Regions from separate parts of the Homo sapiens genome. Here all the other regions are linked to region 1. Evidence: promoter capture Hi-C in human tissues and cell types (Jung and others, 2019). All regions are on one chromosome and are shown on one strand. Each heading gives the region's core, a stretch centred on a gene start or on the middle of the fragment in contact. The rest is flanking DNA. Distances are from core to core; before and after follow the strand shown.

Evidence for each region. The method cuts DNA at HindIII sites, captures the fragments that hold promoters and counts their contacts. A contact is called where the count stands out against the background at its distance.
Region 2: a fragment that was not itself captured here is called in contact with the fragment with the promoter of LTBP2 in region 1 in 1 of the 25 tissues and cell types used here (lymphoblastoid cells).
Region 3: the fragment with the promoter of EIF2B2 here is called in contact with the fragment with the promoter of LTBP2 in region 1 in 1 of the 25 tissues and cell types used here (adrenal gland).
Region 4: a fragment that was not itself captured here is called in contact with the fragment with the promoter of LTBP2 in region 1 in 1 of the 25 tissues and cell types used here (lymphoblastoid cells).

Annotation. Positions count from the first base shown.
Region 1 is chr14:74,610,849-74,618,734 of GRCh38, forward strand. It overlaps LTBP2 (latent transforming growth factor beta binding protein 2), which reads right to left and starts at 1,389. Exons shown (of 36, transcript NM_000428.3): 1 at 603-1,389. The coding sequence starts at 1,096. LOC101928352 (a long non-coding RNA gene) reads left to right here and starts at 2,337. Exons shown (of 2, transcript XR_944029.4): 1 at 2,337-2,447; 2 at 2,719-3,200. RefSeq lists enhancers at 1,445-2,072, 6,681-7,880 and a silencer at 1,700-2,019. The HindIII fragment of the contact is 13,991 bases long and covers 1-7,532 here.
Region 2 is chr14:75,106,174-75,114,059 of GRCh38, forward strand. NEK9 (NIMA related kinase 9) reads right to left here. Exons shown (of 22, transcript NM_033116.6): 8 at 7,166-7,230; 9 at 4,148-4,198; 10 at 3,512-3,704; 11 at 1,170-1,314; 12 at 329-529. Among named protein-coding and RNA genes, the nearest start is that of NEK9, 17 kb to the right of the region's middle. The HindIII fragment of the contact is 5,660 bases long and covers 780-6,439 here.
Region 3 is chr14:74,997,540-75,005,425 of GRCh38, forward strand. EIF2B2 (eukaryotic translation initiation factor 2B subunit beta) reads left to right here and starts at 5,382. Exons shown (of 8, transcript NM_014239.4): 1 at 5,382-5,614; 2 at 5,736-5,856; 3 at 6,012-6,160; 4 at 7,198-7,361. The coding sequence starts at 5,452. RefSeq lists enhancers at 4,929-5,018, 5,060-5,740. The HindIII fragment of the contact is 11,364 bases long and covers 2,715-7,886 here.
Region 4 is chr14:74,910,296-74,918,181 of GRCh38, forward strand. RPS6KL1 (ribosomal protein S6 kinase like 1) reads right to left here. Exons shown (of 12, transcript NM_031464.5): 6 at 1,499-1,546; 7 at 953-1,085. Among named protein-coding and RNA genes, the nearest start is that of RPS6KL1, 9.0 kb to the right of the region's middle. The HindIII fragment of the contact is 7,214 bases long and covers 1,332-7,886 here.

The DNA of each region.
Region 1 (7,886 bases), core at 139-2,638:
TCAGGACACGCTTCCCGCCCAAAGTACCCAGAGCTCACGCCCACGCCCGCATCCAGCCCTCAGCGTGCGCAGGCCGACCCACGCCCCACGACACTTGTCCCGACGCACCAGCTTCGCTGCCGGCTCCCCTCCTGGAGACGCATCTACCTTCTCTCCATGGGGCCCCCGACACCTCCGCCAACCCGCGCTCTGAGCCAGCTCAACCTCCCCTGGGCGTCAAGAGCCTGGAGCGCCCACCCTCCTGCCCTCTCCCCGCTGCCTCTCAGATCCCGGCAGCGCTGCAAGAGTCTACAAGAGCTCGTTAGTTGCAGGCAGGAGGAACGCGGGCGAGTGGAGAGGCGCCTTGCGAAAGGATTTAACGTCGGGGCTCCGGGAGAGTTGGTAAGAAAGGATGAGGATGATGATCTATCTGCCTTCAACTCTTCGAAAGCGGATCAAATCTTCCAATCCCGATTTTGGAACCTCGGGGCTGTTTCCCGAAGTACTAAAGACAGAGGGACGAGGGTATGAGAGCGGCGCCCTCTCCTCTCGCCTGCACGCCCCTCCACAAATGAGCCCTGGCTCCCCTCTGTACCCTCCAAACTTCCCTCTCCCATGCTCACCCCGTGAGCCGCCCTCGCGGCGGGGTTGGGGGCGCAGCCCCAGACCGCTGTGGGGTCCCCAGGCGTGGGAGAGCCGGCGCGGCCCGGGTCCGGGGTGCTGGTTGCTGCTGGCCCAGGGGAGTGCTTCTCCGGGTCTGCGCAGGTGGCTGGACACGCCGCGACTGCTGCGCGCGGGACGGCCTCCTGGCCTCCGCCTCGGTGGGCCTCCTGGGGCTCCCCCAGCCCGGCTGGGCCCGCTCCACGGGCTGCAAGCCCGCGACAGGCGCGTCCTGCTCCCGGAACAGACTGTACACCTTGGCTGCAGCCGCTGCCGGGTAGCTGCCCCCAGGGCGCCGCAGTCGATTCGCGTCTCCACCAGCCGGCTCGTATCTCCCTACGGGGTCCCTTTGGGCATGACCCGCGCCCACGAAGAGAGCCAGGGTGAGCGGCAGGAAGCCTCTCCAGGGGTTCCGCAGGGCGCGCCCCGGGCTGCGGGCTTTGGTCCGCGGCCTCATGGCGCGGGGCGGCTGGAGAGTGGTGCGCGCGGGCACCGCGAAGAGCTTTGTGGTCGGCACGCTGGACGCCCGCGGGCTGTTCTCCCGGCCCCGCCCGGCGGCCAGCTTCTCTGAGTCTAGGGGGCCCTGAAGCGGCCGACTGGGGGCCCGGCTCTCGGCGGAACGAGGGCTGCGCGCCCCGAGCCTCGAGTCCGCGCTCCTACTCCAGCTGGGCTCGCACGGCTGCTGCACCTTCGCGCCTCCTCCCTGTGCCTGCAGCCGTCTGAAGGGGACCCGGACGGTTTTATTTTTGGAAACCTCCCCCGGCTTTTTCGTCTCTTTTATCCACACCAGGCCCCCTCCTCGGAGGGACAGCTCAGCCCCCTCATTACCGGAGAGGGAGCGAGGAATTCCAGCAACACCCACTTTGGCACCGGGAAGCCAGCGGGCGGCGAGCGGGCGGCGAGGGGGATTAACCCGTGCGGAGCAGGGGGCGGCGCGGGGCTGACCCAGGCGCTGGTCGGGCAGATGGCGCCTGCCACGACCGGGACACTGGGCCGCCTTTCTCCTGCTCTGGGCAAGTTCGAACTGCAGACCTGCCCCGAATCGTTCTCCCGCCCCTCGCCTCAGGGACCGTCTTTGGATCGGGGGACCCAGGCTGCAGCCTTGCAGGTCTGAAGGAAGCCGGGAGGGGCGCCGAGGCCCGCGTAGGGGAACAGGGCCGCCGCCCCCTCCGCTTGCGCCCTGGCCGCTGGGGGCGCCCTCCGCAGGGCCGGCCGGAGCGGGGGTGGCGCGGGGCGGGGCGCGGCGCGCGGAGCGCAGGGAGGTCCCGGGCGCGCCCCCTGGCGGAGCTGGCGGCCCTGGCGCTCCGTGGCTGCAATGCCCTGGCGCCGCCGCCTTCGCTCTGGATCTCAATCCCCTTCCACTGGCGTGAGGGTCACGCCTGAGCCTGGCGCGGTGATGGCTGCCGGTAGAAGAGGGGTCCTCTTTTTCTTTTTCTTTTTCTTTTCTTTCTTTCTTTCTTTCTTTTTTTTGAGACGGAGTTTCGCTCTTGTTGCCCAGGCTGGAGTGCAATGGTGCGATCTCAGCTCCCCGCAACCTCCGCCTCCCGGGTTCAAGCGATTCCCCTGCCTCAGCCTCCCTAGTAGCTGGGATTACAGGCATGCGCCACCAAGTCTGACTAATTTTGTATATTATTTTATTTTTTAGTACAGACGGGGTTTCTCCATGTTGGTCAGGCTGGTCTCGAACTCCCAACCTCAGGTGATCCGCCCGCCTCGGCCTCCCAAAGTGCTGGGATTAAAGGCGTGAGCCACCACGCCCGGCCAAGGGGTCCTCTTTTTCACCGAGGCAAAGACACGGAGCCTCTTGAGTAAGTCACTCAAGGAGATAGCGCATGTGAAAGAGGGGAGTGGAATCTAGGCCTCCCGCCTCTGGCTGAATCCATTCCCGGGATCCCACCCAGCCCTTCACTCTCTCGGGAATTTCCCAGAGGGGGATTCGGTGACCCCGATTGACCCAGTGTGTGCATTCACATCTTGTGTTAGCAGGGAGGCGGGCAGGGGTGTGGGAATGCTGACTGCCGCTGTCTGCGTGTCCCCAGTAATCAGCACACCATTCTCACCCATGCTCCCTCCCTACAGCCTAAAGGCTTGGATCAACAGGGCTGCCCCTGGCACATTTGTACAGCCTATTTCCCAGAGAGGCAGAGTGAAGGAGCTGGCATGTGGGCACCAGTTCACAACCTCCCACACCACACAAAAGACAAGCCCAGGTAATATCTACTGTTGAAATAAAGCCTCGACCCCTGGCCTTGGCCTACAAACCCTAGCTGGCTGCCCCCGCTCTGATTTCATCTGGCCTCTTGCTCTCCCTTACCCACCACACTGTGCTGCCTTGGCCCTCTCTCTGCTCCTTGAACAAGCCAAGTGAATGCCCCCTTCCCTCTACTGGAAGGTTCCTCTCCAGGATGTTAGAGGGTAGTTCCTCATCACTGCTCCTCTCAGATTAAATATCAGCTCCTGGAGTAGCCATCCCTGACCTCCAATCTAGAGCAGCCCTCCCTCACCCCAGTCATGACTCTAACACACCACCCTGTTTCATCTTCATAAAACAGTTGACATCATCTTGTTATTGATTTGTTTGCTCGTGTAACTGAATTTTTTAATGGGCTGAACCTAAAGAGGGACTATCCAGAAACTGCTCCACTACTACCTTCAACCATATTATGGTAAATTTCCCTTTCCCACCCTTAATGACATCTCAGGCAGAGTCCTTGGCTTGAGAGGTCATCCCTACCAGACACGAGAACTATTCTATTAATATAATTAAGACCCATTTTCAGACACAAAAAGTCTGCTCCTGTCCAGATCAAAATCTCATCCAAGTTAATCAATATCACATCCCATTTAATAGTCCTCCTCTCCCCTGTCCCTTTGCTAGAGATCCTGCAGTGGTGAGAGTGGGGTGTGGTCTGTTTTCCTGACCTCCCTTTTCTGCTGTGGCTCCTCTTTGTCAAGGCTGGGAGAGAGGTGTTAGAGGAAAAGTAGCAAAGTCTTATGTGACAGGTACCCTTGGTTGGCAGGTGCCAAGCGCTGGCTTTTTCATGGGCACATATGTGGGTTTTTGGGAGGTTCTCTACAGGACCTCCACCCTGAGTTGCCATAGCAAATTACTCTCTGGCCAACCTCTCGGAGACCCCTGCATCCTCTGTCTCTCATAGGACTGTCCCACCTATGCCAGGCAAAACAATGGTGGGTTGGCCGCTCCTCACCCTGCCCACTTCTCACCTTGCCACACAGGCCACTCCAGCGAGGCTCCACGATCAGAATTCTCCAGACAGGAAGTGCACACAAGTCTCTTCATTTATGTACGTCCTCAATTCCTAAAGACATATGTTGGGTTCTCCCATGAACTGTCTTGCTGTAGTTTAATGCACCGAGGTGCCTGTAACATCCAGCAACATAGTCAGCATCAGTGGGGGGACAGTTATAGGGACAGAGCCTCCTCTTCTTGCAGATGACTGGTTCTCTCTGGGAGCTCCCTTCATTTGGTTTGAGTTGGGGAGTTCCCTCAGGGGAAATCTCAGCCCTGCCCACAAATGCAGCAGTGTTATGCTTCAGTGACTTTCTTCAATCCCTTTCATTTGTAGACTGGAATTGAGGGATGTAGTTTGATTGCTGTTGAACCTGTTCTGCCTTTAGTAAGGTGTCTAGTACTTCTCTTCAGAATGCAAGAATATTTAGCCCTCATTGTTCTATCTTTGTGGCTTCAGCAGATATTCCAAGAGCAGAGGAAAAGTCCTATTCAACAACCTATAAAATCATTTCTTGTCTGACTTCCCAAACCACAATGACAGCTCTAAAGCAACAGATATCTTGTCTGCGTTGCTCACCACTGTTTCTGCAGAACCTAGAACAGCCAAGAAGTATGTGTGAAATGGATAGCTAACTGAATGAAGGACACAGTAATCCCATCAAGTGGGGAGGGCTGGTATCATTAGACCCATTTTAAGAGAGAGGAACTGAGTTCTGGGTGGCAGCTCCTGATCCAGGTTCATGTGCTTGCTGCCTTTGGGGCTGGCTCTAAAGATCTCCTTGAACCCTACCCCTTGCATTTGACCATGAATGCCCCTTAGTTCCCAGAATGCTGCGTTCTGTTCCTGGGATGCTGCTCCTTCACAGCTGTGGAAGCCCCAGGTCCACACTTACCTCTCCTTGCCCAGATATCCACCCACCTCTGTAGTTCTGGGCTCCCTTCCTCTCCCCGGAACCTACCCACTTCCTTCAGAAGCTCCCCTCTAGATCCCTCAAGACCCACCTCAGATCCCCGTGGGCCTCCAAAAGCCAGAAACCTTGGCATCATCTTCGTCCCTGAGCTATTTTTTCCTCCTGTGTGTCCAAGTCATTATTACTGCTCCGTCTCCTCCGTCTGCATTTCTGGAAGTCTGCCGCCCATTCATCCCTCACCCTTCGCCTCCGCCAAAACCCTCACGCAGACCAACTTTCCCTCACCATCGGGCGCCCCTTCCACTCCTCAGTGAGTACAAGTGGTCCTTGGACGTTCCCACCCTGTTCGCCTGGGGACCATAACCCAGTTCATCTACTCCAAAGACTGGCATCTTCTACCCCATCCCGGCGCCACACTCTGTCCTGCCACCTACTTACTGCCCATATCTCCCTTACCCTCTAACTGCTGGGACTGATTGCAGCTCTTCAGAATCTCCAATCCCACAAACACTTGAGTTTTGCTTTTTTTTTTTAACCTGCCAAAATCGATAGAGCCTACTTTAGTCCAAACGCCATACTAAGCATGTTACATCAATTGGCTGATTTAACCAACCAAAGGAGGCATTATGATTTCCACGCATACAAAGGAGGAAACTGAGGTTGGCAATGGCTACTGGCTTGCCCAAGATGGCACAGCTGATAAATAGCAGAGGCAGGATTCAAACCTGGATCATTTTCCACCTGAGCCCAAGCTTTTAAGGTTACACCGCCTTGCCTCCACCCCGGGCTTGTAAGCCTGGAGCCCTCTTCACAATTGAATCATGACCTTTCCAACCACCCCACCACTATCACCACCAAAGGAGCTCTAGGGCATATCCCCAAATGCCCTCTTCCCTGCCTGCCAGCCCACTGTTCATGTACCTGGAGCTCATGTACCTGGAGATGTGGAGTTATCAGAACTTTCTGCCACCCTTAATCCTCTTGGCCCAGTGAAAGAAGGGAAGCTGTTTCAGCATGGCCGCTGACTCACCGTGTGTCACTTCCCCACCCCCTGATTAAAGCCTTCTCCCTCATTAGATCGCTGCTAAGCCTACTCACCCATCTCTTGGGTCTGGAGAGGAAAATCATCTCTGGAAAACCCGGCAGAGAGAGTCTAAAGGGTTGATAAAGAGATTCCAGCAGGGAAAGGTTTGCCCAGACACATGCCCCATGCAAGGGACAGCAGTCTCCTGGACTCCCAGGGCAAACTCACTGCTTTTCCATGTCTCACTGGAATAATGTTGGCAGCCAGAGGTCTACCAGAACCTGAGCTAATTTGGTAAATAAGGACCAAAAACAAGGGCCACATTTCGGCCCCCTTTGCTGAGACCCAGACTCCTGAAAGAATTCCAGGGATTTTTCTTGCTTGGAAGTAACTGGACCTCCAGCCCTGAATTCCTCTCCCCAGGAGAGCTTGTTCCCCTGCTCAGAACAAATAACACATTTCCTGGTTAATCAGAGGGCAGAATCGCTGAAGGAAAGTTTGACTGGGCCCCCAGCCTTCCAGACGGGAGCCGCTCATGGGCTTGGATGTTCTGCTCCAGACACTGGGCAGCTGGGACCCCAGCACTGCGCAGCCTCAGCCTCCAGTTTGGAAGGTGCAGGCCGTACAGAGAGGTGCCGACTCCCTCCTGTGTGAGGTTGTTAAGGCCCGCAAAGGCTGCCAGAACCATTCCACCTTAGGTGCCATGACCTGGCGTCCCCTCAAGAATTCACAACCACCCTGCCCTGGTCTGCCGGTGCCTGTCTCCTCCAAGTGGGTATGACATGCTGGCTGGTGGTGATAGCCATGGTATGGATGTTCCTGCAAAGGTAAGGTGAGCTGGCCTGTATTTCAGAGTGTGCTGGAAAGGGCCCTCCCACAAACATGTGGTGAACATTTACGTCTTCTGTGAGCGGAGCACAGTTCTGAGCTCATTTCCGTCTTCTGTGAATGCAGCACAGTTCTGAGCTTCATTTGGCTTCTACTTTCTTATCTGAAAGTTGAGATAATGATGTTCTTTTTGCCATTTTTCTCTTCAGGACAAACTAGCTAGCCAGCCCTGTTTACCCTGTCATGGGGCTAGGGGCAGGTGTCAATTACTACTCCTCCATTTACCAACTGATATTTCATTTATTGTTTGTTTGTTTGTTTGAGACAGGGTCTCACTCTGTCACCCAGGCTGGAGTGCAGTGGCACAATCTCGGCTCACTGCAGCATCCACCTCCTGGGTTCAAGCAATCCTCCAGCTTCAGCCCCCCAAGTAGCTGGGACTGTAGGTGCACGCCACCAAGCCTGGCTAATTTGTATTTTTTGTAGAGACGGGGTTTTGCCATTTTGCCCAGGCTGGTCTTGAACCCCTGGACTCAAGTGATCCTCCCGTCTCGGCCTCCTAAAGTGTTGGGATTATAGGTGTGAGCCACCACATCCAGCCTTGGTATTTCTTGAGCACTCAGAAGGTACCAGGCACTGTGCCAAGTCATCTTATAGTCACTTCCTTGTTTAATGAGAAGCGCTATTGATGAAGGAAGTGCTATTATTTCCCCACATAGCAGATGAGGAAATGAAGGCTCGGGGAAGTAAATGACTCATCCACAGTCACAAGCCAGTAGGTGGCTGCGCTGGGATTCACTCCTGGTTTGTCTGGTCCCAGATGCTAAACCAATGCCAGCTTCCAGGGGAAGGGAGACCACCGACAGCTGCATTTTTCTCAGAGCTGGAAGCATGCACAGCTGTTTGTGGTGTGGTGGGGGTGCTAATGGCTGCATGGGACTGTGGTCACAGGTCAGCCCCCACCAAGCATCCCCCATTCTCCTCAGGCCTGTTTACCAGCTAGGGGTCCGCTCTGAGTCAGGGCGGTGAATCTGATTCGCACCCACAGAGAAGAAGGAAGGAAGTCACAGCCACACTCACCCCACCTCCATCAAGTAGTCTGCAGTTGCTGAATAGAGCTCATCTCAACTCGTAGCTTTTCTCTTTGGGAAAGAGAAATGACATACATACAATGTCTATTTAGCTCTGTGTGGTAGAGGTGTTGCCATTCCCATTTCACAAGCCCAGAGGG
Region 2 (7,886 bases), core at 2,360-4,859, 500 kb after region 1:
GTGGTGAAACCCCATCTCTACTAAAAATACAAAAAATTAGCTGGGTGTGATGGTGTGTGCCTGTAATCCCAGCTACTCGGGAGGCTGAGGCAGGAGAATCACTCGAACTCGGGAGGTGGTGGTTGCAATGAGCCCAGATCATGCCATTGCACTCCAGCCTGGGTGACAGAGAGAGACTCTGTCTCGAGAAAAAAAAAAAAAAAAAAAAAAAAGATTTACTGAATTAACACTTCTCATTTAGGGGCTGCATGATGGGTTTAGATGCATACAACTTTGAAGTCAGGTTGTATACCTGTGAAGAAGTGGACAGAGACAAGGCTACCCCTACCATATTCGCCACAGCCCCAAGAATAGACTTCCTTGTTTCGTGTCAGAACCACCACATGATTATCTCCACAGGAGACCTGCTCCACTGGATTGCTGAGGAAGAAGTTCAGCTGCATGGGTTCTAGCACTTCAGGGCCAGCAACTTTGTCCACCCCCATGCAGCCATAATAATCTGATCCGAAGGCATAGAGCTGACCCTCATCTGCAAAAGAAAGGAAAACAGAATCCATCAAAGGACTGACTTATTTTATCTAATCAGAAAGTTGGGCAGGGCTGGAATGAGGACTACCCCAGCAAATGATCTCACATGAATTGATTATATCCAAGAAATTAAAAGGACAGACTGTGCAAGTCTAGAGTTCTATGTCAGAGAGTCATGTGTACTACTACTACTATATTAAACAATTTAAAAAGTGGTAGCATTATCACATTAAAAGGACTTAAAATTTTAATGGGGCCATCTTTGTTATATAGATAAAAAAATAAGTCCCAAGGAATCATTAACTAAGTAATGACAAGACCAAAACTAAACTTAGGTCTTGATCCTAATTTTGTGTTATTCATAGCCTGATGAGGTGGTAAGATTATTTTTCCTGCCAACCACGACACACATTTTCTCCTGATCCCACCTCTTCTCTGTTACCCACCTGTCTTCTCCTTGCTCACCACCCCCTAATACTATAGCAAATTTGGTATGTTATTATTAATGAGTATATTTGCTCAAGGTCCTCTGGTTCTTTGTATACTGTCTTTTGTTTTAAAATCCCAACTAAGATTGCACAGCATTAAGCAAAATACCCCCACATTAAATGCACTTAAGACACTTTCTGCTGATGGCTTACCAGTCACACAGACAGTGAAATCATCACCACATGACACCTGACGGATAGCTTTGCCTTGCAACTTTTCCACATGCTTTGGCTGTCGATAGGAGGCTTTGTCTCCATGGCCCAGCTGACCATGGAGTTTAGTGCCTCCTTGCATGTTCTGTGAAATAAAGAGGTCTTATGACTTTTTTTTTTAATTACATTTTATTAAACTTAAATTTTAAAGAGATGGGTTCTCGCTATGTTGCCCAAGCTGGTCTTGAACTCCTGGGCTCAAGTGATCCTCCTGCCTCGGCTTCCCAAAGTGCTGGGATTGTAGACATGAACCACCATCCCCGGCTGAGAGGTCTTATGAAGTTTTAATTTTTCATGCCAAAAGCTGATCTTTAATGGAACTTCATATGAAGAAAAACAGTAGAAAAAAAGAGCTAGAAATTTAGAAATTAGAAAAAAATGGGCAAAGGGATTAAACATTTTAATAGCAAGTAGTATACAGATCCTGCCAACAGGTAAAGAAAACTTAAAAAGTATCCAGATTAATATCCATTAATCTAATCTTTGTCCTTCAAGTCTAAGGTAAACTATATATTTAATTACAGGTGATGGTGAAAAAAATTCTTTATAATATAGTCTAACTTTGTTGCTTTCTACAGGAATATAGCTTCTTGAAAATCTGTACTAGAAGTTTCATAAATTTTGGTCACAGTTTCCCTGAAACATGGAAGAGTTATAAAGAATCTGGCTACATCAAAGAGGCTGCTATACAGCAATGAGACTAGTCCTTGATGACTTTTCAACTTTTTTTTTTTTTTTTGAGACAGAGTTTCGCTCTTGTCACCCAGGCTGGAGCGCAGTGGCTCGATCTCAGCTCACTGCAAGCTCTGCCTCCTGGGTTCAAGCGATTCTCCTGCCTCAGCCTCCCAAGTAGCAGGGATTACAGGTGCCCGCCACCACGCCTGGCTAATTTTTTGTATGTTTAGTAAAGATGGGGTTTTGCCATGTTGGCCAGGCTGGTCTCGAACTCCTGACCTCAGGTGATCCACTCGCCTCGGCCTCCCAAAGTTTTGAGATTACAGGTGTAAGCCACCATGTCTGGCCTTTTCAACAGTTTTATAGAGAAAAATAATTCTATTAAATGAGTATACTACAAGTCCTCATATTTTATATATATATGTGTGTGCGTGTGCGTGTGTGTGTGTGTGTGTGTGTGTGTGTGTGACAGTATATATATATATTTTTTTTTTTGAGACAAGGTCTTGCTCTGTCACTCAGGCTGCAGTGCAGTGGTGCAATCTTGGTTCATTGCAATCTCCACCTCCCAGGCTCAAGTGATTCTCATGCCTCAGCCTCCTGAGTAGCTGGAATCACAGGCATGCGCCACCACTCTCAGCTAACTTTTGTATTTTTAGTAGAGATGGGGTTTTGTCATGTTTGCCAGGCTGGTCTCAAACTCCTGGCCTCAAACAATCCACTCGCCTTGGCCTCCCGAAGTGCTGAGACTTCAGTTGTGAGCCACTACGCCCAGCCAATAAATGTTTAAGATACTAATTTCTCTCCAGCAGCCTGAAATGAGCCTGAGAACGCATAGCAAGAGACAGGAGGAAAGCCAAGAGAACATGCTATCACAGAAGGCAAGTAAAGACAAAGCTTCAAGAAGGAGGGAGTGGTCAACTATGTCAAATGCTGCCGAGAGGTCAAGCTAGGTAAGGACTAAAAAGCATCTGTTTTATTTTAGCAATTTATGGGTCATTTTGTCAAGACTAGTTTCAATTGAGTGGCAGTGGCAGAGATGGAAGCTGCATTGTAGGTGAATGAAGAGAGAGTGGGAGATAAGGAAACAGACAGCAAACACAGACAATTTGTTAAGGAAGGTGAGAGGGGAGAATCTAGAGGGCAACAAACAAATTCTACACAAAATATACCTAGCCATCTTCAATCACTGCTGTGGGCTTCAGGGGTTTCCTGACATGGTATAGTCCTTCCTTTGTTTACAAAGCTATTTCACAGGTAATAGTTGCTCTGAACCTCATGGTAATATAACAGAGTAATTGAGTGACTTGTCTGAAATCATCCAGCTGTAAATGGGAAACCCCAGTCTCCTGAGTCTTTCAATTTTTCTCTCCCTCTCTCATTCATTCATTCAAAAAACATTTATAGGTGACCTAATATGTACCAGCCCTGGGCATACATCAGTGAACTAAACAGACAAAATCCCTGCTCTTATAAGAGCTTCCATTCCATCACCCCATGTTGCCACTCCCTTAGTATAGGTTCAACTAATAAAATGCTTAGACATCGTGGGCCCAGTAAACAATTAGGCTTACAGCACTGTTCCAAAATGCTTAGCGTTCACTTACCACCCAAGTGTACAGTTCCTTCTCCACTGTGACCACAGCAAAGTGGGTATTCCCTGCACAGACCTGCCGGGCACTACAGCCACTCTTGATAACATCCAGTTTCTGGGGGGTGGATTTTCCACCACCCCAAACATAGACTTCACTGGTTCGTGATGTTACTACAGCAATGGGTGCTTCAGTCACAGTGCTTGACCTGCCAACAACCCCCAGAACAAAGGAACATTTAACATTAAAAACAATATCAAAGAAAAATGCTTCCAGTCTGTTCCCTGAGAAGAACTGCCAATTATGGTATGAGAAAGTATGTTCTTTCTCGACAACTTGTTTCAATGTGCTCTATCACAGCAGACTTTGCAATTCCTGCCTCAGGGCTTCATCACAGCTTGGCCAGATCAGATTCCAGTCTGACCCATAACACCTACACTTTTCCACATTCATCATGGTAATGATGGCCACTTTAGTGTGAGGGTGAAATTATAGCTTTCTTCTTAGAAATGACTGTCTGACATTTAAGCAGATGCTGGCTCCTGAAAGGATGCCAAAGTATCCTCGGATCAAATAATGCCTACACTCAAGAAAGAACCCCCTGGTTGTAATTTCGGATATATTAGTTTTTAAGAGTCTCTTGAACATTACCTTGGTCTCTTTGTAGGTGCATTAAGCAGAGTGACTTTTTCCTCCATCTCTCTACCAAAAGAAAAGCAAAGATACATGAGTGAAATAATAGGTTTTTATATTGCAAAGGTGTCTGTTTAATACATTTCACAGATTTAATCCTCTTATAAACTGTATGCATCCTACAACATCACAATACTTTTAGCAAAGTACCTCAATACAACTCAAAACAGTTATATAGTCCTTTCATTAGACAATTCATTAAATACCCAAAGGCCAGCAGTTTGGGGCCATTTGCTTTCTGTCTCTGAGAAATGGTCCAGGCTGGAACAGAGAGCCTTGAGAACCTCTGATGTACATATTTAGTATCTGATGGACACCTTCATCTAGTCTGCCCACTGACTCCCAAACTCAGTATCTCCAAATATGAGCTTGTTAGCTTTTTCCCAAATGAGCTTTTCTTTCTGACTCCTCTATTTCTGTAACTAGCCGCAACACCCTTCCCCAATTCTCCCAGTCAACTGGGCTTAAAACCTCAGTCATCTCTGATTCATCTCTCTCCCTTTCTTTAATATTCAGGTTCTACAGATTCTACCTATATAGTACTTTTTGTACTCACCTCTTCCTTTCCAGTCTCACCACCTTAGTTCTGGGTAGCTCTACTTCCCACCTGTACTGTGATAATACCTCCTAATCAGCCTCACTTACTACAGTCTTAATCATTTTACTATACTAATTTAACACAGATACTAATATTGCCAAATAACTCTTCCTTAGGTATGCCTCTCATCACGTGAACTGCCCTCTCGCAAACATCCACCATCTCTCAACAGTGGATGTGATACCCACTCTATCTTTTGCACTACCTCTTGAATTAACCACAATTTTCTTGGCCTGGCATGCAAGATTTCCTACCTATTTTTCCAGACTTCCTTCCTTTTGTTTGCACCCCACGTTCTAGCCCAGGGCTGTCATCCTACCTAAATCAATTATAGCTGAGCTCCTAGAGTAGTGCTCAGGCATCAGTACTTTTTGAAAGCTCCTGATATTTTGCATCAAAAATCCCAGGTCTAGAACCACTAATCTAGCCAAATAGAATTTTGTGTTTCCTGAATATTTTCCACAACTTCCTGTGTCTATGATTTTGTTTATGCTATATTCTCTGTCTGGAAAACTCTGTCTTATGTTTTCCATCAAAGTACAAAGTTCCAACAAAGTATTGCAGGCAAATCTATAATTATCTCAGTAAAAATTTCATGCCTACACTCAAGAAATAAGAGATTAAAATAGTGACTTAAAATAGTGATTATGCCGTGTGTGGTGGCTCATGCCTGTAATCCCAGTACTTTGGGAGGCCGATGCAGGCAGATCACCTGAGGTCAGGAGTTCGAGACTAGCCTGGCCAACGTAGTAAAACCTTGTCTCTACTAAAAATACAAAAACTAGCCAGGCGTGGTGGCGCCTGCCTGTAGTCCCAGCTACCCGAGAGGCTAAGGCAGGAGAACTGCTTAAACCTGGCAGGTGGAGGTTACAGTGAGCTGAGACTACGCCACTGCACTCCAGCCTGGGCAACAGAGTGAGACTCTCATAAAGTAAATAAAAGTAAATAAAATAAAATAAAATAAATCATTATATTGCTGTGAAATAAGCCAGACAAAAATTTTAAATATGCTTCACCAGACCAAAAGGGTGATACTGCCTGCACGTGCACAAAACATAAATGGAAGGTCATGGTGCTGTATCTGGAGTACTGTACATAATTTCAGGCACTAAAACACTGGCTACAGACCAACTAGAGAAGAACCAGAAAAGATTAATTAAATGGCATAGTAGAATAAAAGTACTGATGAAACAGCAAATATGCAATTAGGGATGTACAGAATGTATCCAAGAGCAAGACTTGAAAAGAGCATTGTATGTGAATATTTGGAAGATATAAAAACAAAAAACTGGTAGTGGAGGAAGAAGCGTAGCAAGGCAAAAATAGTGTAATAGGATGAAATACAGACTCAAATATTTAACGAAGATAAATGTTTTAAATTAAGGTATGAAACCTCCTAGAGGAACAGAGGGATAAAGGATGTTCTTCCTATCTCTAAAGATATCTGACAGAATAATCTCAGGAAATAACCTCTGAGGAGTCAATAAAACTCGACTTCAAATATGGGCAAAATGTACCTGAAGAGGATTCCTCCAACTCCAACCTACCACCTAAACAAATGCAGTGAAAAACAAAGGCTCAGGCTGGGCATAGTGTCTCATGCCTGTAATCCCAACACTTTGGGAGGCTGAGGCAGGAGGATTGCTTAGGCAACAGCTTTGAGATCAGCCTGGGCAACACAGTGAGACCCCGTCTCTATAAAAATAGAAAAATTAGCCAGGCATGATGGTGCACACCTGTAGTCCTAGCTACCTGGGAGGCTGAGGTGTGAGAATCACTTGCAGCAGAAGTTCAAGGCTGCAGTGAGCTAGGACTGTGCCACTGCACTCTAGCCTGGGTGACAGAGTGAGACTCTGTCTCAGAAAACAAACAAAAAACAAAAAAACCAAAGGACCAGTCCAACTCACACTACAATTGATAGGCACCCTATGCCAGGCCCTGGGCTGACCACTTTTTATGCGTTATCTTCTTTAATCCTGACCTCATCTTACTTTATAGAGGAGAAAGCCAAGAAATAACGATGTTAAATAACTTGACAAAGATAATGACAAAATTCAGATACAAACATAAGGATGTCTGAGTCCAGACACCCCTCTTCCTTACTGCACTCTAATGCCTCAACTCTAAGGTTTAAAACCAATGGGTTGGGGAGTGAAGGGCTCTTGGGCCTCATTAGTACAAATTTACAACAAAACAGCACAGGCTAAGGAGGCAAAAGTCAGATGCCACCCCTAAGCAATAAAAGCAGGGATGTTGGTAGAAAATAGCACTATTGCAACCAAGTCAGGAAACACTACTCTTTCTTTTAGTACTCTGATCAAGCCTCTAAAAGTCAACTATCTCAGAAAAGACAATGGAGTGACTTCTTCATAATTTACCTCCTGCGTTTCCTGAGAAGAGGGCGATCTAGAAGTTCATCTGCAGTAGGTCTCTGCTCAGGATCCTAAAAAGTAAAAATAGGGTTAGTTTTCACTTAATGGAAATGGGCGACATCGGATCTAAAGATGTTAATTAGTCAAAGACCACTGCATTATCCTTTTGTTTTAAAAATCATTTCTTATGTGATACTCCATATTTTATGCTTCTCACCTCATTATAATCAACACTTGTACATGAAGGAGAATGTTTATAATGCATCTTCCTCACTTGTTCAGTTAGGGCAGTGGCTCTTGAACCTCAATATATACAGAACAGAAGAATTACCTGAGGTGTTTGTTACAAATAAAGATTTCTGGGCTTTATCCACAGAGATTCTGATTGAGTTCGTCTGGGGTGGGGCCCAGGAATCTTCTTTTTACTTACAAAACTCCCCCATTCCCTGGTGATTCTGACTCCAGTGTTTCATGAAACATACTTTGAATAATACTAGAACTACACAGCAAGGGAACCATGAGATATGAGAAATACAGACATTCTGTATTAGAAGTGGTAAATTATCTTTCATTGCAGTTTTTTGAAATCTATATTCAGAAATTACTCTTGGTCATAAAAAATCGAGCACAATTTAGATGGGAAATTCATTTCACAAACTAACACTTACAAAACAGAATGAAGTAAGAATTTGTTCACTGAAGCACACAACTATAATGAATTACCAAT
Region 3 (7,886 bases), core at 4,132-6,631, 390 kb after region 1:
GTGGATAGCTTGATCCCAGAAGTTCAAGACCAGCCTGGGCAACCTGGCAAAACCTAATCTCTACAAAAAATACAAAAGGCTTGTGTCTGTAAATCCCAATTACTGGGGAGGCTGAGGTGGGAGGATCAATCACCTGAGCCTGGGAGGTCAAGGCTTCAGTGAGCTGTGATGGCGCCACTGCACTCCAGCCTGGGCAATAGAGTGAGGCCCTATCTTAAAAAAAAAAAAAAAAAAGACAATTGTTAAGATAATATCATATTGATTCAGAAATAGGCAAATTCAGCAATGAAACCAAATAGCCACCAAACAGACTCACATATTATAGAAACTTGACATATGACAGTGGTGACATTAAAAATCACTGGAGAAAGAATGGAAAAATAAAATTGGATTCACACCTCTCACCTTACATAAAAAGCAATTCCAAATTATATGTAATTCCAATTCCAATTATATGTAAAGATAAATGTTTTAGTAATCAGAAGAAAATATAGGAGATTATATTTATAATTGTGGATTAGGGAAGAATGTCTTCTGTTTTTTTGTTTGTTTGTTTGTTTGTTTTCAGACAAGGACTCACTCTGCCACTCAGGCTGGAGAGCAGTAGTATGATCACGGCTCACTTCAGCCTTGACTTCCCAGGCTCAAGAGATCCTCCCACTTCAGCATCCCAAGTAGCTGGGACCAGAGGTGTGAGCCACCATTCCTGGCTAATTAAAAAAAAATTTTTTTTTGTAGAGACAAGGTCTTGCTCTGTTACCCAGGTTGGTCTCAAGCTTTGGAGCTCAAGTGATCTTCCCACCTTGGCCTCCCAAAGTATTGGGATTACAGGCGTGAGCCACTGCACCTGGATGGATTTTTAAATTTTTTTATTTTTTTGAGTTGAAGTCTCACTCTGTTGCTTAGGCTGGATTGCAGTGGTGCTATCACAGCTCACTGCAAATTCAAACTCCTAGGCTCAAGCAAACCTCTCACCTCTGCCTCCCAAGTAGCTGGCACTACAGGCACATAGTAGCTGCCACTGTACTTGGCTAATTTAAAAAATTTCTTGTAGAGATGGCATCATGCTATTTTTCCCAGACTTGTCTAGAACTCCTCGCTTCAAGTGATCCTCCTACCTTGGCCTCCCAAATTGTTGGGATTATAGGTATGTAATCCCAACACCTGGCAAATCCACTGCACTTGGCTGAATTTCTGAAATAAGACAGAAAAGGCATTATGTAAAAAAGACAAGGTTGATACATTTTAACACATTAAAATCAAGAATTCTGTTCAAAGACATCTCAAAGTAAAGAAGACAAGCCATAATTGGGAGAAGACACTTATTTATATAATAAATAATTGAAAGAAGATTAGTATCTAGAATATAAAAAGAACTCTTACAAATCTACTTGGAAAAATTTTTAAGCCAAAAACAGTAGGTAAAAGGCACAACAAACAATTCACAAAAAACTCATGGCCAACAAACACATGAAAATATGAACAGTAATCAGGAAAATGCAAATTAAGACCACAGTAAAATATACTTTTATACCTACCTGATTCCCAAATAATAAGATGTTTGGTAATAACACATGTCAGTAAGGATGTAGGTCAGCTGAAAGTCTTTAAATATTGCTGGAGGGAGCATACATTAATTGAACCACTTTGTACTACTAGATCTATTTGTAAAGTTGAACATTCGTATAGCCTCTGATCTAGCTGTTCCACTTATATAAGTGCCAAGACATACACAGGACTATTTATAGTTTATGTTCACCCACCCCCCTAAAAAGATTGGAAACAACCCAAATATCTGTTGAAAAAAATGAATACATAAATTATGCTACAGTCACATGAAATATTAGTGCAAATAAGAGAACTACAAGTTCTTACCAGTACAAATTCACCAGTGCAAATAAGAGAATAACAAGTACATGTAACAACATGGATAAATTTTATGAATGTCATATTGAGCAGAAAAAAGTGAAATATACCACATATTTCCTAAATTGTAAAATAACACGGAACATAAATTTTACCATCTTAACCTTTTTAAGTGTACAGTTTAGTGAAACTAAACTGGCATGAAGTACATTCACATTGTTGTGAAATATAAATGCACAACCAGGCCGGGTGCAGTGGCTCACGCCTGTAATCCCAGCACTTTGGGAGGCCGAGGCAGGCGGATCACGAGGTCAGATAGAGACCATCCTGGCTAACATGGTGAAACCCCGTCTCTACTAAAAATACAAAAAAATTAGCCGGGCGTGGTGGCAGGCACCTGTAGTCCCAGCTACTGGGGAGGCTGAGGCAGGAGAATGGCGTGAACCTGGGAGGCGGAGCTTGCAGTGAGCTGAGATCGTGCCACTGCACTCCAGCCTGGGTGACAGAGTGAGACCCTGTCTCAAAAAATAAATAAATAAATAAATAAATAAATGCACAACCATTATCCACCATCTATCTCTAGAACTCTTCTCAACTTGCAAAACTAAAACTCTGTAGCCATTAAACAGCAACTCTCTCCCTCCCCTCAGACCCTGGCAATCACAGTTCTACTTTCTTTCTTTCCTTTATCTTTTTTGAGACAGGGTCTTGCCCTGCTGCCCAAGCTGGGGTGCAGTGGCAGGATCATAGCTCACTGCAGGATCATACATAGCTCACTGCAGCCTCGACCTCCCAGGCTCAAGAGATCCTCCCCCCTCAGCCTCCCAAGTAGTTGGGACTACAGACATGCATTACCACACCTAGCTAATTTTTAAATTTTTTGTACAGCTGGGGGTCTTGATATGTTGCCAGGGCTGGTTTCAACTCTTGGGCTCAAGCCATCCTCCCACCTTGTCCTCCCAAAGTGCTGGGATTCGGGTGTGAGCTACTGTGCCTGGCCAACACAGCTTTGCTTTCTATCTCTATTAATTCGAATATTTTAGTTTCAAAGTGAGGGATTGGTTCACATTCCTCAACCTGTTTGTCGTCATGCTTTATAACTTGCATACACACACATATAAATTCTTTAGTATATATAAAATACTATATACCTTGTTTTTTTTGTTGCTGTTGTTGTTGTTTGTTTTTGAGACACAGTCTTGCTCTGTCACCCAGGCTGGAGTGCAGTGACACAATCTCAGCTCACTGCAACCTCCACCTCCCAGGTTCAAGCTATTCTCCTGCCTCAGCCTCCCTAGTAGCTGGGACTACAGACATATGCCACCACCCCCCACTAATTTTTGTATTTTCAGTAGAGACAGGGTTTACCCACGTTGGCCAGGCTGGTCCCAAACTCCTGACTTTCAGGTGATCTGCCCACCTTGGCCTCCCCAAGTGCTGGGATTACAGGCATGAGCCACTATGCCTGGCCTATATACCTTATTTTCTTAATGACTTGATATATGAAAAAATAACGACAATATCCAAAATTGGCTATAATATGGTAAATGCTAGCCAGCATGTAAATTGATACAATTTTAAAGACATTTAAAAATTAACACACAATTAGCCAGGCATGGTGGTGTGTGCCTGTAGTCCCAGCTACTCAAAAGGCTGAGGTGGGAGGATTATTTGAGCCAGGGGAGGTTGAGGCTGCAGTGAGCAGTGAGCATGCCACTGCACTCCAGCCTGGGCAACAGTGTGAGACCCTGTCTCAAAATAAACAAACAAATCAATAAATAAAAACTAAAACACAGCAAAATTGACACATATTTTATGGCTTTTTAGAGCAACTGTATTTTCAACTTCAATTTCTGATGCTCATTGCTAATACATAGAAATATAGTTTTTGTATCCTTGCTAAACTTATGTTCTAGGAGGTTTTGTTTTTGTTGCTGTTGACTCTGGGATTTTCTGTGTACACTATCATGTCTTCTGTGAACAGGGACAGTTTCTTTCCATTCTGTATGCTTTTTCTTTTTCTTGCCTTATTGCAAGGGCTAGGACTTCACGTATAATTTAAATAGGAGTGGTGAAAGTAGACATCCTTGCCTTGTCCTGATCTTAGGGAGAAAGCAATCTTTTACTGTGAAGTATGATTTTTAGGTGTAGGATTTTGTAGATACCCTTTATCGAGTTCAGGAAGTTCCCTTTTGTTCTAGTTTTCTGAGAGTTTGTACCATGAATATTGAATTTTGTCAAATGTTTCTTCCTGCATCAATTGACATGATCATGTGGTTTTACTTCTCAGATTGTTAATATGGCATATTACATTGATTTTTAAGTGTTTAATCAGCTTTGCATTCCAGGTTTATGTTTCACTTTGTAATTACATATTATTCTTTTTTTATGTATTGCAGGATTTGATGTGCTAATAATTTGTTGCAATTTTTGCTTCTATGTTCATGAGAGATATTAATCTGTAATTTTCTTTTCTTTGTACTACCTTTGGCTAACTTTGGTATTGACATAATCTTTTTGGAGGGCAATTTGTTAATTGTAACAAAAGTCTAAAATGTGCTCGCCTATGGATTCCACTTTGAAGAATTTATCTTAAGGAAATAGAGATTTCTATTACACACATACTTTGGGTTCAGGTAGACCTGGATTTAAGTATGAACCCAATCCTTTATTAACTGCTTAAATTCTGTGGGTCTGTTTCCCAATCTGTAAAATGGGGATAAGAGGACCTATTTCAGACCTTATTAACTGAGACAATTCACACACAGTGCCCAAGAACCAGTAAGCTTTAAGTAAATGGTAACTCTTGGTATTATGTTATACTCTCTGGCCTCTCTGTAGGAGGACAATTCTGTCCAAATCAGAGGATGTCATCTTTGCTTCTGTATTGGCTCCCACTTTGAATCTCCTTAATCTTCCTCATCTCTAATTTCGCCGTCTTCTGTTAGACGTGTTAGGCCTTGAGAATACAAAAGCAACAAAAGATATCGTCCTTGTTTTCAGAGACATGAACCTCCTAGACACAGGCGCAAACGGTACCAAGCAATGTAACAGAACAAAAGTGAGACGTCTGCCCAAGGGGCAGCCGACCCTGGACATGCATTCAGAGCGTCAGTGTCAGCTGACACTCGGGAGTGACAGCTCGGGCAGTCACCGAGCTGGGAAGACAGGAGGGAGTGCCGCAACTTCTTCAGTGTAGCCTTAAGTCGCGGTGAGGGGCGCGTAGAGACTTGCTGCTCCCATAGCAACGGGACCAGCCACCCTCTACAGGCCTGACGGGTTACTTCCGTTCACCGTCGGCTGAGCCAAGAAAGGCCGCTTCCGATCCTCCAGCCCCCGAGGCGCGGGGGCGCGCGGACGCCCGGTTATAACTGAACAACCCGAGCCCCACGTCTCTGATTGGCTCAGGCAGAGGAAGGGGGCGGGAGATCGGCAACGAAGGGCGTAGCCGGCTTCCACTCAAACTTGAGGTTTCCCCCCATCCCCTCACAGCGGAAGCCGACCTCGCCCGCCCCGGAAGTGCAAACTGTGTGGTCTGGCAGGTGTGGATTCCGCCGGTGAAGGCTGAAGGCAGCTACCTTAAAGATGCCGGGATCCGCAGCGAAGGGCTCGGAGTTGTCAGAGAGGATCGAGAGCTTCGTGGAGACCCTGAAGCGGGGTGGTGGGCCGCGCAGCTCCGAGGAAATGGCTCGGGAGACCCTAGGGTTGCTGCGCCAGATCATCACGGACCACCGCTGGAGCAACGCGGGTGAGGCCGGCCTGCCTCCGCCGGCGAACCTGGCCCCTGTCTGTTCCCGATCCCAGGGCTGAAAATTTCCCAGGCCTCACTTCGCGTTGGCTCCTCTTATCCTCTCTCTTTTGGACTGTAGGGGAGCTGATGGAGCTGATCCGCAGAGAGGGCAGGAGGATGACGGCCGCTCAGCCCTCCGAGACCACCGTGGGCAACATGGTGCGGAGAGTGCTCAAGATTATCCGGGAGGAGTATGGCAGGTCAGGCTCACGTCCTGGGCTCCTGGTTGGATCCAGTGACACTTTTTGCACGGGCCCCTCTACCTGCTCGGAGACTTTATTGGAGCTGAACAGCCCTTGTTACCTGCCTGACCACTCCTCCCCACCTCTCTCTTTGGGTCTTGTTGCCTCTATAGACTCCATGGACGCAGCGACGAGAGTGATCAGCAGGAGTCCCTGCACAAACTGTTGACATCCGGAGGCCTAAACGAGGATTTCAGCTTCCATTATGCCCAACTCCAGTCCAACATCATTGAGGCGATTAATGAGCTGCTAGTGGAGCTGGGTAAGAGGCCTGATCGCTGGGAAAATGGGACTGGTCACAGGCACATAAGGGAACAGAAGCCTCTGAAGGTTGTTCATTAGCAGAGATGGGAGATTAGCTGTCTTCTGGTTCTCAGAGGTTTGTCCTCCTTCCTGATTAGGAAATGTTGCAACAGGTGACAGGACCAAAGTAATCCTCTCTACTTTTCCTTACAGACCAACCCTTGATAGACTACAGATCTGTGGAGTGGAACAGACTCTATTAGGACAGAGTTTTATTTTCATTGTAAAGAAACAAAATGAACTCCCTAGAGAGCCAAGGTCGATAGACCTCCTTCACTATCTGAATTTTTATACACACGTACACGTATACCATTTCTATCCCCCTTGTCATTGCGGTCCAAGTGACTTGCAGATATTCATTGTAATCAGAGGATGAAGAAGCTGCTTCCAAATTGCTCCCCCATTTTTTCTTCTCTGGCCAGTCTCTCTCATGTAGAAGTGTTGTGGCCACCTTTTGGAGGAAGACTTCTTTTAGGCCGAAGCTCTCTTTACCCTATTCTCAGCACTTTAGGATTTCCCAGATTGCCATTCCTTGGCTGAATCTACTGTCTTCAAAATCAGTTGTAAGGAGCTCTGTAGTGACAGAGGTGGTTCATAGGTAGGGGTACTTCTGGAAGAGGGCAGGCAGAAAATCCCAGAGGAGTGGGGCTTTTAAGAAATTGTGACATAGCTGGGCATGGTGGCTCACACCTGTAATCCCACAACTTTGGGAGGCCAAGGTGAGTGGATTGCTTGAGACCAGGAGTTCAAAACCAGCCTGGGCAACATAGTGGGACCCTGTCTCTATTAAAAAAAAAGAAATTGTGACATTTCACTTTAAGCACATTAACCCTGTGGTACCAGGGTCTGCTAGGTGGGCAGTGCATGTGAAGGGCAGACATCTTTTTCCGTATACGCGTAATGTGTGTTTGTGATATAGCAATTTCATATATATATATATATATATATATTTTTTTTTTTTTTTTTTTTTTTTTTTTTGCAAAACCGTTCTTACAGAAGGGACAATGGAGAACATTGCAGCCCAGGCTCTGGAGCACATTCACTCCAATGAGGTGATCATGACCATTGGCTTCTCCCGAACAGTAGAGGCCTTCCTCAAAGAGGCTGCCCGAAAGAGGAAATTCCATGTCATTGTAGCAGAGTGTGCTCCTTTCTGCCAGGTAAGGAGACTGCTGGAGTTGCTACTAAGAAAAATGAAAAATGAAGAAGAAATAAACGAGAGATGGGTAGGGCCATTCCAACCTTGAATTGATAAGCAAGACTTTGAGACACTGAGAAGATCAAGTAAAACATTAAGTGAATTTTCAAGGTGTTCGTCCTGTGAACATTCATAAATAGTGGTTTAAGAAAGTTGGGGCCGGGAGCGATGGCTCATGCCTGTAATCCCAGCACTTTGGGAGGCTGGGCGGGTGGATTACCTGAGGTCAGGAGTTCGAGAGCAGCCTGGCCAACATGACAAAACCCCGTCTCCACTAAAAATACAAAAATTAGCTGGGCGTGGTGGCACATGCCTGTAATCCCAGCTACTCTGGAGGGTGAGGCAGGAGAATTGCTTGAACCTGGAAGGCAGAGGTTGCAATGAGCCAAGATAGCGCCACTGCACTCCAGCCTGGACGACAGAGCAAGACTCTGTCTCAAAAAAAAAAAAAAAGATGGCGAGCTGCTGGGTTCAAGGAAAGATAACT
Region 4 (7,886 bases), core at 3,689-6,188, 300 kb after region 1:
TGCTCCCTCCCACCCCTCAGCTTAGAATGCCCTCTGCCCTCCTCTTGACCCAACTAAAGTGGGCCCAGCCTTACAAACTGGCACACCACCGAGAGATGTCCAGCACTATCAGTGTCTGTGGTTTGGGTGGTGGGTTCACTAGTGTGAACACTGTTTTTAGGGAGACCGATATAAAGAAATTTAAAGAAAAGTCAGGCACACACTTATGATGACTATATGTCATGACCCCAGATGTGCACCTCACTTTAAAAAGTCATCAATACAACCATCAGTATCTGCTACATGGCCCAGTTCCTGTCCTCATAACTTCAGTCACCACCACCCTGTCTGGCCACTCCCAAGGGATCGGCACAACCCGGAAAAATGAAAAGAGCCAACGCTGGAGGAAACAGCGACAGAGGAGACAGCTGTGATTCTCACGCCCACCCACGATGTGGACATCCACCCCAGGATGTCCCCTGCCCCCTTGGTACCACACAGGGGCCCACAACAGCCTGACTGGCCTCCAGAAAGGCCGGGTCCCCTGGTCTGTGCTGTACATCTGGTGCAAGCTCCGCCCCTCCCCAGGGCTCAGCTTTTTTTTTTTTTTTTTTTGAGGCGGAGTCTTGCTCTGCTGCCCAGGCTAGAGTGCAGTGGCGTGATCTTGGCTCACTGCAACCTCCACCTCCCGGGTTCAAGCCATTCTCCTGCCTCCACCTCCCAAGTAGCTGGGATTACAGGCACGTGCAAGCACACCTGGCTAGTTTTTGTATTTTTAGTAGAGACAGGGTTTCACTATGTTGGCCAGGCTGGTCTTGAACTCCTGACCTCAGTTGATCCGCCTGCCTCGGCCTCCCAAAGTGCTGGGATTACAGGCGTGAGCCACCACGCCCTGCCAGGGCTCCGCATTTTAAGGGTTGACGACATACCCCAAAGGCCTGGGGAGCTGACAGGGGGCCCCAGGCCTGCTCACCTTGCACATGCTCCAGGTGCAGGAAGATGGAGTCCTCGCTCACAAAGTACCTGAGCAGCTTCGTCATGTAGGGGACTCCGTGTGGGATGATGGTCAGCCGCTCCCTGCTCACCATGTGGCACCTGGGTAGGCTCTGGGAGCAGCAGGGCAGGCAGATCAGCCGGGGACAGGCCAGAGACTGCTGCTGTTAGGGGACCTCCTAGCCCTGGCTTCAGGGGCACCCGAATGAGGGTGGAGCAACTGCCTCCCTCAGTTCCTGACCTGTCCTTACCCCCACTGCCCCTGTAGAATCTGGGTCCTCCACCCTCTAGCCAAAGAGGGGGCAGTGTGTGTGCATGTGTGTTTGTGTGTATGTGTATGTGTATGTGTATGTGTGTGTGTGCATGCATGTGTGTCCATCTGGAAAGTGGGGCATGTTCAGGCAGAACAACCAGCTTTTGTGGGAGGGAGTGCAGGCTTCAAATGCAGGTTCTGGGTAGGAGTTTCCAAGAGCCCTGAGAAAGATCCAAGGGGAATGCAGAGTGGCAGGGGCAGGGTGGCACCTGCCTTCACCACAAAGGTCCCTCCGGTTGCCGGGTCCTGGACCAGCTGCACCTGCCAAAGTCCAAGAGGCACTGGTTAAGGCAGGTACTAGCTCCTGGGGCTCCGTGACCCCAGCCTGACCCCCTCCCAGGTTCCTCCACTGAGGCTGACTCACTCCAGTGGCAGGGCAGGGAGGGCGGGCTTTGGTGGCACTCCTGAAGCAGACATCGATCCTATCCTGCTCACCCACCCCTGCTAGACCTGTGGTCTCAGATGCTGCCTCCTCCAGGAAGCCTTCCCAAGATTACAGGGGCTGGGGTCCCTAATCTGCCTCCAATGCTCTCTTAGTTCACCCTTAGGAGAGCCTCTTCACACTGTCTAATCTGTCTCCCACTGGACTGTGAGCTCAGTATTCCCGGAGCCCTGCACAGTGCAGGGATGTAGTAGGTGCTAGACACATGCACTGTGAGCAGCCCGGGCCTTGGCTCACTGTGTGCGTGGTGGGCATGCGAGCAGAATGCCCTGCCCTCTCCCTGCCCACGCTGGGCCAGGCCTCATGCCACCTGACGGGAGGGCTGAGAAGCCCTGTTCCACCTGGACCCCAGAGATCAGCTGAGAAGCCCTGTTCCACCTGGACCCCAGAGATCAACTGAGAAGCCCTGTTCCAACTGGACCTCCAGAGATCAACCCCTCACCCAAGGCCTTAGCTAGAGCCCCAACATCCTGCAGGGTCTGAGGTGTCATGGCTGGAAGGGACCTCAGAGCCAGTCACTTCCTCTGATCTCTTGTTTTACAACTGAGGAAGCCGCAGCTCTGAGGTGACTCCAGGTCTCCCCAGCGCAGCCATGTTGTGTGGGCTTGGCACGCTGCGTTCAGGCCTTTTTCCCACTCCACTCCACCCCCTTCATTTACACACACCCCCATGACACAAGTTTATCTATGTGAAAAACCTGCACATGTACTCCTGACTGCAAATAAAAATTTAAAATAAATAAGTAAAGTCCGCTTGAGAGGCCGTCTTTGGAGAGCAGCCTCTCCTTCTTGTGTTGGTTTCCATTAGAGGCAGACGCTGTCAATCGCAAGGTCAGGGCCATGTTTGGAGTTGGGCCCTTGACTCATCTGCATGGTGGGCAGGGGCGGGCCCCAGCATAGGAGCGGGCACATGGGTACGTCGAGGGCGGGAAGGCAGAGGATTCAGCCCAGGTGAGGGCATGTGGAGGCAAGGCCAGCACCCTGGGGTTGTGACTCCTTGGCTGTTGGCCTGCCCTGCGGACATTCCCCAGGGAGGCTGTGGCCAGCCATGGTCGGGGTGGGAACTGGGCCCTGAGGCCAGGCTGCTGGGCAGTGAGGAAGGCCACAGCTTGGGATCAGGGTAGGGGAAGGGGCACTGGGCTTCGATCCTGGGCAAATTGAATTGATTTTCTCATCTACCAACCAGGAATTCCAAATGCCTACCTTCCCTACATCTCTGGATTGTTGAAGCCATTCTGAAAGCCCTTGGTGAGGGCCAGGTGTGGTGGCTTATGCCTGTAATCCCTGTAATTTGGGAGGCCAAGGCGGGTGGATCACCTGAGGTCAGGAGTTCAAGACCAGCCTGGCCAACATGGTGAAACCTCGTCTCTACTAAAAATACAAAAATTAGCTGGGCATAGTGGTGCCCGCCTGTAATCCCAGCTACCTGGGAAGCTGAAGTAGGATAATCACTTGAACTCAGGAGGCAGAGTTGCAGTGAGCCTAGATCAAGCCACTGCACTCTAGTCTGGGCAACAGAGACAGACTCCATCTCAAAAACAAAACAAAACAACAAAAAACAAAAAACCAAGAAAGCCCTTGGTGAGTGGAAAGGCTGTGAGAATGTCAGTGATCACATCTGCCAAGTCACATGGCCTCTCTGAACCTTGCTCTTTTTAAGTACAAAACGGGGTCATAGCAGCACTTCCTTCAGGGGGTCCTGAAGAGGATTCTGTTAAAGCAGGCAATTCAGGCAGAGCAGCAGCCTGCACCTGCCGCAGAACACACCCTTGATAACCTGTCGTGATTATTACCAGTGTCATCCGAGGGGAAGCCCACCCTGGCTGTAAAGTGGTTACTCTGTGCTAAGCACTTTACATAGGTTGTTTAATTTTATCCCCACAATCCTGCCAAAATTCAGGCCTGAGCCTCAGAGAGGTTATGTTGCCTACTGTCCCACTGCTAAAAAGTGGTCAAGTCAGGACCTGAACCCAGACAGGCTGATCCCGGAGCCCTGCAGACTTTACTGGAACTGGGGGCACAACCAGGTGACCCTGGCAATGGCCTTCCCTCCTGAGCCTGTTTCTCCATCATCAGTGAAAGGAAGGCAGTGGACTAGATGAGAGCGCCCAGGACCCTTTTCTCAGCAGGAGCGAGGTGTCCTCTCCAACCACCAGAGGTCTCTCCTCCAACAGCCAGAGACCGAGTCCAGCCTGGGCTTGGCTCCCTGACCAAACTTGTGCAATGTTAGAAAAAGCAAGGAAGAAAACTCTGGAGTCATTTAGGAGAACAGAGTTTCCCACAAATCCTGACACCCCAGATAATTCCCCACTGTCCCTTGCCAAGTGGGATTCCCCACCACCTGGTCCTGGGCAAGGGCCTGTAACTGACAGAGTCCAAAAAAACTAGCGAAGGAGGGAAGGCTGAGGAGGCCAGAAATAAACCTTGATCCATACACTGAAAGATTTCTGTTAAAAACATATTAAAACCAACCTCAGTATTCAGAAATAATTAGACTAAAACATTAACAGTGATTATCTTGGAGTTCGGCAGGATTCAGGGGATTTTCTTTTTCTTCTCCTTTTTCTTTCATTATATTTCAAAAGGGCAGCAAAGCAGCAGGCATTTTCCCATTCATCCAACCAAACAAGAAACTCCTTTTACTCAGTGGTTTGGAGGATGGAGGACTGTCTAGTGCCTTGACTTCTTTGTTTATTATTTATTTTTTTGAGACGGAGTTTCACTGTTGTTGCCCAGGCTGGAGTGCAATGGTGTGATCTCAGCTCACTGCAATCTCTGCCTCCCAAGTTCAAGCGATTCTCCTGCCTCAGCCTCCCAAGTAGTTGGGATTCCAGGCATGTGCCACCACACCCAGCTAATTTTGTATTTTCAGTAGAGACGGGGTTTCACCATGTTGGTCAGGCTGGTCTTGAACTCCTGACCTCAGGTGATCCACCCACCTTGGCTCCCCAAAGTGTTGGGATTATGGGTGTGAGCCGCTGCGCCCAGCCCCGCTGACTTCTTTGAACCTCAGTTTAATTCTCTGTAGGACAAGTATTAAAATGCAGCACTGTCCAATTGAACTTCTTATCATGATGGCAGGATTATATGTCTGCACTGTCCAATATGGAAGCCAGTAGCCACATGGGGCCATTGAGCACTTGAAATGTGACTGGTGCAACTGAGACACAGATGACTTCATTTTAATGAATATGAATGCACAGAGGCTTATGTGCCTAGTGACTACTGTGTTGAACAGCACCCTATAAGGCTTCGTTCCCCCATGGTGACTGTGAGGATTTAATGCCACAGCTCTGTAAATGAGAAGGTTCCATACAACTGTCGGGTGAGCCTTCCATTTGGGAAGATGGAAGGCAGTTCTGAGTGCTTTCTCTCACCTTTTAAAAAAGAGCAATTGTTTTAAATAAAGAGACCCACTGAATTCTTGGGACAGAGGGACAATTAAAGCTTTGGTGAAACACGGTAAACCTTTTCTTTAAAGATGCACAAAGTATCAAAATCCCAGGAGGACTCTCCCATGGAACAAACAAGCCTAAAGGTTTCAAACAAGTTCTTAAACTCAAAGGTCCACAGGGGCCAGGCATGTGAGCAAATAGGCAGGGTGGAGGCGCAGAAAGGAGGGCTGGTGCCCCGTCTAAGGCAGGCATCTCCTCCTCCACTCCCTGCTGCCACAGGGGAATGGGAGGCCAGCGTTTCCAGATCTGATTTTTTCAAGAGAAGCAGGAAATCTGGACTTTTATAAGAATCTGCACATTTTCAAATGTTGGTAACAACTAAAAAAACCCAAAAAACAAACAACAAAAAAAACACCCCTGTGTTTAAGCCAAATAAAAGAAGAAGTGACTTGGATGACCTTCTTTTTCTTCCTCCACCCTGTCTCAGAGCCTGGCTCCTGCACGAGGCTCAGCAAATACCCGGTGATGTCTCCCTGGCCCCCAGGCTCTGAGGCCAGGCCCTCGGGTATTCTGGCTGCTTGCCAAGTCCCGACCCACCCACCTCACTGCTCCCTGCCACCATCTCTTCAGCCCTTAGTTATCCTAACAGCCGGACACGTTAGGGGTCACTCAAGCATCATCCCGAGCAAGCCCTTTGCTTCCTCCCTGGGCCTGAGGGTTGCTGCTGGCTGGCACTGCCCACTTGCCCAGATCTGTCTGGGCACAGCTGTGGAATGGAACAAGGGTGACAGTATATCCAAGTCTGGCTGCAGGGACCCAGGCCCAGGGGCAGTAACACCTTTCCTAATTTGAGGAAAGTGATGCTCCTGGCTTGGGCATGACACAGGGAAAGGAAGTAGGATCTCAGGAGGGAGGTGAAGTCCTTAAGTTGAGTACCCAAGACAGGATAAAAAAGAAAAAAAAGAAGGGTAGTCCTGAAATAGAATGCGGCGGGCCACTGGCTCACGCCTGTAATCCCAAGTGCTTTGGGAGGCCTAAACGGAGGTGGAGGATCACCTGAGGCAAGGAGTTCGAGACCAGCCTGGGCAACACAGCGAGATCTCTCTACAAAAAATAGAAGACAATAGCAGGGCTTGAGACTGTGGTCCCAGCTACTCAGGAGGCTGAGGTGCGAGGATTGCTTGAGCCTGGTAGGTCGAGGCTGCAGTGAGCCGAGATCACGCCACTGCACTCCAGCCTGAGCTACAGAGCGAGACCCTGTGTCAAGAAAAAAAAAAAATGGTTGGGCTTGGCTTTAATTTGTGCTTTCCATCTGCAGGGGCCTCGAAACACTGGATTCCTAAACCACTTTCCTGAGGCTAAACAAGTTTGGGGAATTCTGTGTCACAGTGTACATCTGCACCTAAACACTCTAAGAACTCCGATCATTAAGAAACAAAGCCATATAACTTCAACTCGCTGTTTTCCTATCATACTCAGCTCAGAACCCCTCTCACCACAACACCTATGGTTCAGCGGGATCGTACCGGGAGGCACGGTGTCAGTCACCTCCCGGCCAGTCCCTGGGAACGGCTGTGCTCAGCCAAGGTTGGGTCGTGGCCACTGACACTCAAGCAGTGGGGAGGGGACCGTGGCAGATGGAAGCTGGCAGGGCCTGCGCTGACAGTCTGGGACCTGCCCCAGGGACCCAGGAGAAGCAGCTGGAGTAAGGCCCGGGAGCAGAAGCCTGCGTGCCTCCCAGCTCACTCCTGTCACTTGTATTTAGAGCCATCAAGCACGTACTCAGTGTCACAGCATGTGCCAGGTCTTTCCCCAAAATTGTTTTGTTTTACCTCCCAGATCACCCCATTGGGGGAGAATTCTCATCTCACTTTCCAGAGGAAGAAACCACAGCTCAGAGAGCAGGGGGCTTGCCCGTGGCCACCCGGGGTGGTGCCCAGCGCGGGGCCTTCCCTCAGGCAGCATGTCATCCTCTTGCCTGTGGGAAGTACAGGACTGTCTCCTTTTCTCTGTGGGCCCCCAGATCTACCAAAATCACCCAGTGAGTATGTTAAATAACAGATTCTTGGGCATCTGTATTTTTAGGAAGCTCTCCATTTAGCCAGCTTGGTAAAGAACTTCTTGGGTGACTATTCCAGGGTTCAGGGGAAGAGGGGAACCTCATACTGGCTGGACTCTGATTTGACCTCATTGTCTGTCCTTCTAATCAGAAGCACTCTAACAATGAGTGCCCCGAGTAAGGGTTGGGACGTCGCCTCCTATCTTCTTGTCTGCCCTGAATAAGGCAAAGCATGCGAGATAGCATTGGGACAGGGTAAAGTTACAGTTAGGTCAGGAGAGGAAAAAAAGGGCAGACTTGCCAAGGCCCTGGGCAAGGACGGGCCAGAACGGGCCCTCTCTGGACAGGTTTCTGGAGTTGAGCACGTCCCAGCCGCAGGAAGTCCCCAGCTGTGCTCGGTAGAGCGTCTTGGCTGCAGCCCTGGGGTTCAGGGTGAGTGTGGTGGGGGTGCTGTGGGAAGCGGGAAGTGGGAGTGAGCAGGGCCTCGAGGACTGGCAGGGTGCCCTGGGCATAGCTCCTCGCTCCTCCTGCAGTTTCTGTCCCAACTCTCCCAAGGAGCAGGTTTTCTGGATCTGAGCTGCAGGGCTGTGGAAAGGGCCTGTCTGCCTCTTCTTTTTATATTTTATTTTATTTTATTTTATATTTTATTTTATTTGAGATGGGGTCTTGCTATGTTGCCCTGGTTGGCCTCTAACTCCTGGGCTCA